Regions from separate parts of the Homo sapiens genome. Here region 1 is linked to region 2. The links are contacts of gene promoters, found by promoter capture Hi-C in blood cells and fetal thymus (Javierre and others, 2016). All regions are on one chromosome and are shown on one strand. The core of a region is centred on a gene start or on the middle of the fragment in contact, and the rest is flanking DNA. Distances in the headings are between cores, read along the strand shown. Region 1 overlaps GTSE1 (G2 and S-phase expressed 1). Region 2 holds the start of PPARA (peroxisome proliferator activated receptor alpha).

The links. The method cuts DNA at HindIII sites, captures the fragments that hold promoters and counts their contacts. A CHiCAGO score of 5 or more calls a contact.
Region 1: a contact is called between a fragment that was not itself captured here and the fragment with the promoter of PPARA in region 2, in 7 of 17 cell types (endothelial precursors, erythroblasts, M1 macrophages and 4 more). The highest score is 8.4, in endothelial precursors.

The regions. Positions count from the first base shown.
Region 1 is chr22:46,317,618-46,320,922 of GRCh38, forward strand. The region is part of intron 7 of GTSE1 (G2 and S-phase expressed 1); the gene reads left to right. Among named protein-coding and RNA genes, the nearest start is that of TRMU, 16 kb to the right of the region's middle. The HindIII fragment of the contact is 4,924 bases long and covers 1-3,305 here.
Region 2 is chr22:46,149,072-46,152,491 of GRCh38, forward strand. It overlaps PPARA (peroxisome proliferator activated receptor alpha), which reads left to right and starts at 1,455. Exons shown (of 9, transcript NM_005036.6): 1 at 1,455-1,581; 2 at 2,817-2,899. RefSeq lists silencers at 916-1,525, 1,676-1,795 and an enhancer at 2,006-2,195. The HindIII fragment of the contact is 11,056 bases long and covers 60-3,420 here.

The DNA.
Region 1 (3,305 bases), core at 335-2,834, 170 kb after region 2:
TTGTTGTCTTTCTCTGAGGAGTTGGGTTGGGCTTGGCAGGCAGTTAAGGTGCAGATCATCCTTCCGAGGCTTTTTATGCTTTGAAGTGGTGGGTCTAGCATAGCCTTTCCGCCTCCCGCCACCGGCGTCCTTCCCAAGGCCTCTGCTGCACACCCGTGTGTCCCGCAAGGCCCGCGAGACCCCTGCACTCCTGCTGCTGCAAGATGACACCTTCTCGGCCCTGTGAGCTCCGCTCGTTGCTCCCTGGTAAGACGGCGGTTTCTCGGCCCTGTGAGCTCCGCTCGTTGCTCCCTGGTAGTTGCTCTTCTCTTGACCTTGAGGACTCCTGCCCTGCACCTGTGCACTGCCTGGTGCTCAGCCAGAGACTCGAGATTCCCTTGGGTTCCTAGAGCTCGTTCTGTCGGAGTAGCCCCCTCCTCTCTAGTTTCTGGCCCTCAGATTGCAGCCACCTCAGCCTCCTGAGCTCCAGCCACTGCCTTCTCCAGTCAGTGAGGCCACTGGCCCCAGCAGGTGTCTGGCCATTAGTGGGTGGGTGTTTGTAAAGTTTTCATGAATTTCTTGAACAATTGTGTGCAATGCAGAAAGTTCTCAGAGCTGACTTAAGGTGAGAGGAGCGTCCTGGCCTCCTCTGTCAGGCAGATCTGCCCTCTGGGTGCTTGAGGATTTTAAGTTCTGGCAGTGCCGGCCAGCACAGGCAGCCTGCAACTCCCAGAAACTGCATTCTGAGTCCTGCTGTAGGAACAAGCTGTTCTGCTGAGTGTCTTCTCTGTGCTGGAATGCTTTGGGGGACAAGGGACATCATGATAAGACAGACCTACTCTCACAGAATTTCTGTTTAATAGGAAAAGATACGAAATGTTATCAGATGAGCAGGCCTGCAGATCCTAGCACAACAAAGGGACTAAGGGAAGATGGTGTCCTGGAGCTGGCATGTTTGGGGAGGAATTTGCATCGGGTGGTTCTTTGGCAAAGATGGTCAGGAGGTGACACGGGACTGAGATCTGAACCAGGAGACTGAGGCAGCCGGTAGGAAAGTGCAAGGGGGAGCACTCCAGGCAGAGGCAACGGCAGGAGTGCAGAGGTCCTGGGGCAGGAAGGCGTGGGACGTGCTCTGGGAGCAGCATGGGGGCCGGAGGGTGGGAGTGCAGCCGCTGCGGTCGGGATTCTGCGTAGACGTGCGACAGCTGGTCAGTACTCCTTGGTGTCAGGGACCCAGGCTTACTCCATCCTGTGCTGCCGTGATGAGCTTCTCATCCTCATGGTCTAGTGTGGCTGCACCGGCTCTGGCCCTCATACCTCCCGGCAGGAAGCCTTCTTCTAGGTGAAGAAGAGCAAATCCCCACCTTTCAAGGACCCTCACTGCAAGTTGTCCCTGTGACTCCGTTTGTGTCCCATTGAGTACGACGCTTCCCTGCACAGGATGCTAGGACACGTTGTCTTTATTCCGCACACAGCTGAAATTTCTTACTGAGAAGAGGAAAGTTGCTGTTGAACAAAAACTAGCAACCTCAGCCAGTCAGTGACCGAGGGGCAGGGTAAGAAGAGATGAAGATGGAGGGGCAGCCCGAGGCCGGCTCCCAGAGCGCCGCGTGACCAGAGCGGACCCTGGAGTACCGTCAGTGCAGGAGGACGTGCATAGGAGAGATCAGAGCAGAGCGACTTGACCTTCAGAAGGTCCCTCCACAGAGGGAAGAGCAGAGTCTCTGGGCCGAAGAGTGGTGGGGAGGGTAATGCGGACCTGGCCCTCACTGTGTTGGGGAGGAAGCTAGTGCTGGGGAAGGAGGCTGGAGCGCTGCGGTCTGCCTGACGTTCTGGTAGCTTAGGGCTCATGTGGCAGTGCAGAGAGGGACTCGAGTGTCCCTGAGGTTCTGGCGGAACCTGGGTGCTGCCACTCATGTGACAGGAGGGCTGGAAGAGGCAGCGGGCAGAGTCCACGGCCCCATTTTGGAAGTAGTGAGGGTGAGAGGCCACTTAGGCTGCAGCTGAGGGGTGGAGCAGGCTGAGAGCTCAGAGGAGAAGCCACAGCTGGAGACCTCAGTGTAGGTTTCAACAGCAGAGAGCTGAGTTTGTAGAGATGGGAGCTGTGAGCTGGGCACGGTGGCTAACTCCTGTAATCCTAGCACTTTGGGAGGCCGAGGTGAGCAGATCACCTGAGGTCAGGAGTTCGAGAGCAGCCTGGTCAACATGGTGAAACCCTGTCTCTACTAAAAATAGAAAAATTAGCCAGGCATGGTGGCGCATGCCTGTAATCCCAGCTACTTGGGAAGCTGAGGCAGGAGAATCACTTGAGCCAGGAGGCAGAGGTTGTAGTGAGCCGAGATGGTGTCACTGCACTCCAGCCTGGGCGACAGAACGAGACTGTCTCAAAAAAAAAAAAAAGAAAGAAAGAAAGAAAAGAAATGCGAGCTGTGATTGGGTGGGTTCTGCAGGGACACCCTACGGCCCAGGTCATGTGGAGGTGTGTTCAGTAGTGTTTGCTTCCCTTCTGCCTGAATGCCTGGAGCCAGGACATGCGTCTGCCATGTCTCTCCTGACCACGTTGGCACAAGTGTTGGCTGGTCTCCTGGCTGTCGGGCTGCTTGATGCCACAGGACTTCTGCTAATCCCAAATCCCTGTTGGCTTTGCCCTGTTTCCCAGAGCGTGTCCCTGCGGTCTCCTTACGCACCTCTCAGATGTGCATTTCACCTTCGGCAGGCGGTTCCTCCTCTCTCCACAATGCTGGGAACAGGACTGTCTCTTGCACGCCTTTGGTCATTCATCAGGGTCAAAACTGGTCCCACAAACTCAGCACTGGCCGGAAGAGAGGCCCCAGGGGAGCAGCCACGCTGTTGGGAACACACAGCTCTGGGAGGCACGTGGTGGTGTGCACTTTTTGGCTGAGAGCACTGGTGGTGTTGCTCATTGGCTGTGACACCAGCTGTCACCGTGGAGGAGAGGTGAGGGCTGAGGGCACTCACAGCGTGGGACCACATGAACGGTGCCCTGTAGTGGAGGCTTTCATATGTGCACTTTCTCAAAATACTCGAGGCAAGCAGCATTCTTTGTAAAACAGTCCAGTTACAAATGTTGCTATTTACTATGAGTCCATGCTGCCGGGTCACCCAGAGGATTGAGACTTGGAATTCTGGCTGTGGGCTTTGCCTCCCCGGTACTGGGAGCTGCAGTGGAGACGCGCCGTCCAGGTTTAGGGAAGAGCTGATGTGGGCCTGGGAGGCGTGCGTGCTCAGGCAGCCCTAGGGCAGTCGTGAGGGTGTCAGGAGATGGCTTGTTCGTGTTCTGTTTCATAAGAATGACCTTCCCGTGC
Region 2 (3,420 bases), core at 205-2,704:
CTGAGCTCTGCGTGGGCAGCCCAGGGTCAGCTTCCCTCACCAAACACAACAGGATGACAAGCTTGGATGTGGCTGCCTGCACACCCCACGAGATATGCAGGATATTACGTGTACAGGTCACCCTATAAACTCTGAAACAACATAAATGATAGCTATTGCTGGCTAACATGTGCAAGAGAAGGTGAGGTTGCCGTGTGCCAGTGGGAAGGATATGTGGGTGTCTGGAGGGTGGGGCAAAGTTCACCATAGGTGCCTGGCTAATCAACAAGGGTGAGTTTAAGAGAAGTTTGTGAAAGGGCCAGTTCCCGCCTGATCTCCAGTTCCCCTGCCTAATGAGATCTGGGTTTGCTTTCCGGAGTGGGTCCTCCTGGGCGCCCGCTGCCACAAATAGCACAGTGGCAGGCACAGCTGGCAGCGGAGGGCAGGCAGTGGAGCGGGCATAGCACACATTGCGTTCCCGAGGAGGGGAGCCCTGATGTGCCGGCACCCAGGGGCTTTGTGCATTCCGCTCCGGCAGCTCGAGCGTCACGGCCCGAACAAAGCGGCTTTGCAGGGCGCTCTCCTACTCCTCGCCATTGGCCACCGGGCCGCGACCTCTCCTTGCTCTGGCAGAGTCCCAGCGCCTTGCGTAGGCACAAAGTCAGCCCCTCACCCCCCAGCGCATGAAGTAGGGGCGGGCATGGCTCTTGGGCCGCTGGAGAGGGGTGGGGTTGTGGGGTCGGAGCTGGCGGCGCCTCCCCGAGCCCGTCCGCGTTGCCCTTCACCCTCCTCGTTCCCCCGCCCACCACACCGCCCTGGCACCTCCCGCCACCTGTTTCCTTGTCCTCCCAGCTCGCCTTCCCCTTCTCCTTATTTTGCATCCTGGGGTTCCAGGGACAAGGTCCCTCCCGGGCCGCCTCCCACCCTACGCACTTCTGAGCCTCAAGGGCACCCGGTCCCGGGTCCCGGGTCTAGACCGGCTCATCGCACAGAGTAGCAGAGCCGGGCTCATCGAGGAGGCAGGAGGGGCTCGCCAGCGTGGCACGGGCGCCCGGCGGGAACCTCCACCCGCCCCGCGGCCGCGCGTCCCCGCCTCGAATTCAGCCCCGCCCCGGTGCGCCGGGCTGGAGGGGCGCTGACGCTCAGCGGTGTCCCATCGGTGACCTTGGACGGTCCCTCCACCTCTCCGGCCTCAGTTTCCCTTGGCTGCAGCGGCCGCGGGGCGCTAGGTGGGAGCCGCTGAGCGCTCCCGGGGCCCCGCCCACCGCGAGCAGCCAATCGGGCGCCGCCCTCCGGGGGGTGTGTCCCGGGGCCGAGGCCCGGGGCCCGGAGGGCGCGCGGGGCGGGCGGGGCTTCCGGGTCGGGCCTCGGGACACTGGCTCGCGCGGACCGGGGCAGGGGGCGGGCCGAGGGGCGGTGCGTGTCGCGGGGGCGCGGCTGGCACGGACGCGCGGAGGCGGCGCCGGGCATGGGCCGTGGACGCGGCGGCCCCGCGGCGGGGGCAGCGGGCGGCGGGGGCGGAGGCGGCCGCTAGCGCCCTGCCCGGCGCCGCCTCCTTCGGCGTTCGCCCCACGGACCGGCAGGCGGCGGACCGCGGCCCAGGTGCCCGGGGGCGGGCGGGCGGGCGGGCGGGAACGCGCGCGGGGGTCCGCGGTCCGGGCTTCCCAGGTCCCGGGACCCGGAGGGCGGCGGACGGGGGAGGGGCAGGGGCTGGGCGGCGCATGCGCGGGGCCCGGGGTCTCGGGGTCTCCGGGTCCCGGGGACCCGGGGGCCCGGGGTGCGCGGCTGGGGACCTGAGGGCGAGGAGCGAGGACACACACCGAGGACTCTTGCGAGGGATCTCGGGGCCCAGCTCGGCCTCCCTCCTAGCGCTGGGGGCCTGCCCGGAACCCGAGTCCGCGGCTGTCCCTGGGGTTTGGCGCTGCGCGGAGGTCGGGTCTGGGGACCGCAGCGACTCTGGGTCTTCGGGTTGTCCCCTCGGAGGGAGGGCCCACGGGCGGGGACATCGGGACTTGCCCTTTCCTCGGCGCAGCGGAGCTGGGGCGTCGCCGACTCAGAAGGTGCTTTCCGAGACCTCCAGGGATCTCCGAGGCGAGGAAACCCGGGCCCCGGACAGACCGACCCTGGGTGGGTGCGCCCGGCTTCTGCCGTCGGACGGAGACGCGCGTGTTTGTTCCTCCAGCTGCGACCACCTTTGAGGAACGGTTCCCACTTTGTGCCCCAACGCGGCGGGGCGACCCCGGACAGGCTGCGCTGGGCCGGGTGGCTTCTCTGCGGAAGCCGCGCCACGTCGCTCCCGGTCGGGGCCGCTGAGGGTCGGGCGCCCAGGTCTTTCCGGAGTCCCGGGCTGCGCGGCCCGCGTGGTGCGGGTGAAGCTGGAGGGGCGCGGGGTGGTGCCAGTGGAAGTCAGGAGGGTCGGCCCTGCCCCCTCACGCACCCCAACCGGGCACAACTGCACGCCTGTGCTTTTCTGAAGTCTTTTTTAAAAGTTAAAAGAGAGGAAGTGTGCTCCAAGTGTCAGGATTCTTTCCAAGAAAAACCCACAGTTGTCCAATGGCCTGGGCTTCGTGGGACCTCCGGGGCTGCACGCCCACGTCAGCCTCAGCCGACCCCTGCCAGGAAACCAGGGAGGCCCCTCCTCTCCCAGCCTCCTTGGGATAAGGGTGCCTTGGGGAACTGGGTCAGGGCAAGGACACGGGATTTTCCTGGGAAGGACCCTGCGACACCCGTGTCGTTGCGGGGCAGGGTCAGCATGACTTTCCTCTTCCAAGGTGAAGAGTTGGGGGGCATCCAGAGAACAACCGTAATCACTTCCTCCTTCACCTTCTTACTGCCAGGCTGAAGCTCAGGGCCCTGTCTGCTCTGTGGACTCAACAGTTTGTGGCAAGACAAGCTCAGAACTGAGAAGCTGTCACCACAGGTAAATAGAAGGTTTAATTTACTGTTTCCAGATGGAAATATTTAAGTGTTTTCAGTGTTTACTTCTGTTGCACTACAGACCAGCAATCTGGGGGTTATTACTTTGTGATGCAAGGTTAGATACGTTTTCAGACTGAAAGTAAAATACATGTGCATGGATTCATTTTTTTTTTTTTTTTTTTTTTTTGAGACGGAGTCTCGCTCTGCCGCCCAGGCTGGAGTGCAGTGGCCTAATCTCAGATCACAGCAACCTCTGCCACTGGGGTTCAAGCGATTCTCTTGCCTCAGCCTCCCGAGTAGCTGGGATTACAGGCGCCTGCCACCATGCCCAGCTAATTTTTGTAGTTTTAGTAGAGGCGGGGTTTCACCATCTTGGCCAGGCTGATCTTGAACTCCTGACCTCATGATCCACCTGTTCCTCCCAAAGTGCTGGGATTACAGACGTGAGCCACCGTGCCTGGCCTAGGATTCACTTTGAAGTTCTGAGTTATTGTGTGACTTTTGCTAGGAACTTCATTGCTT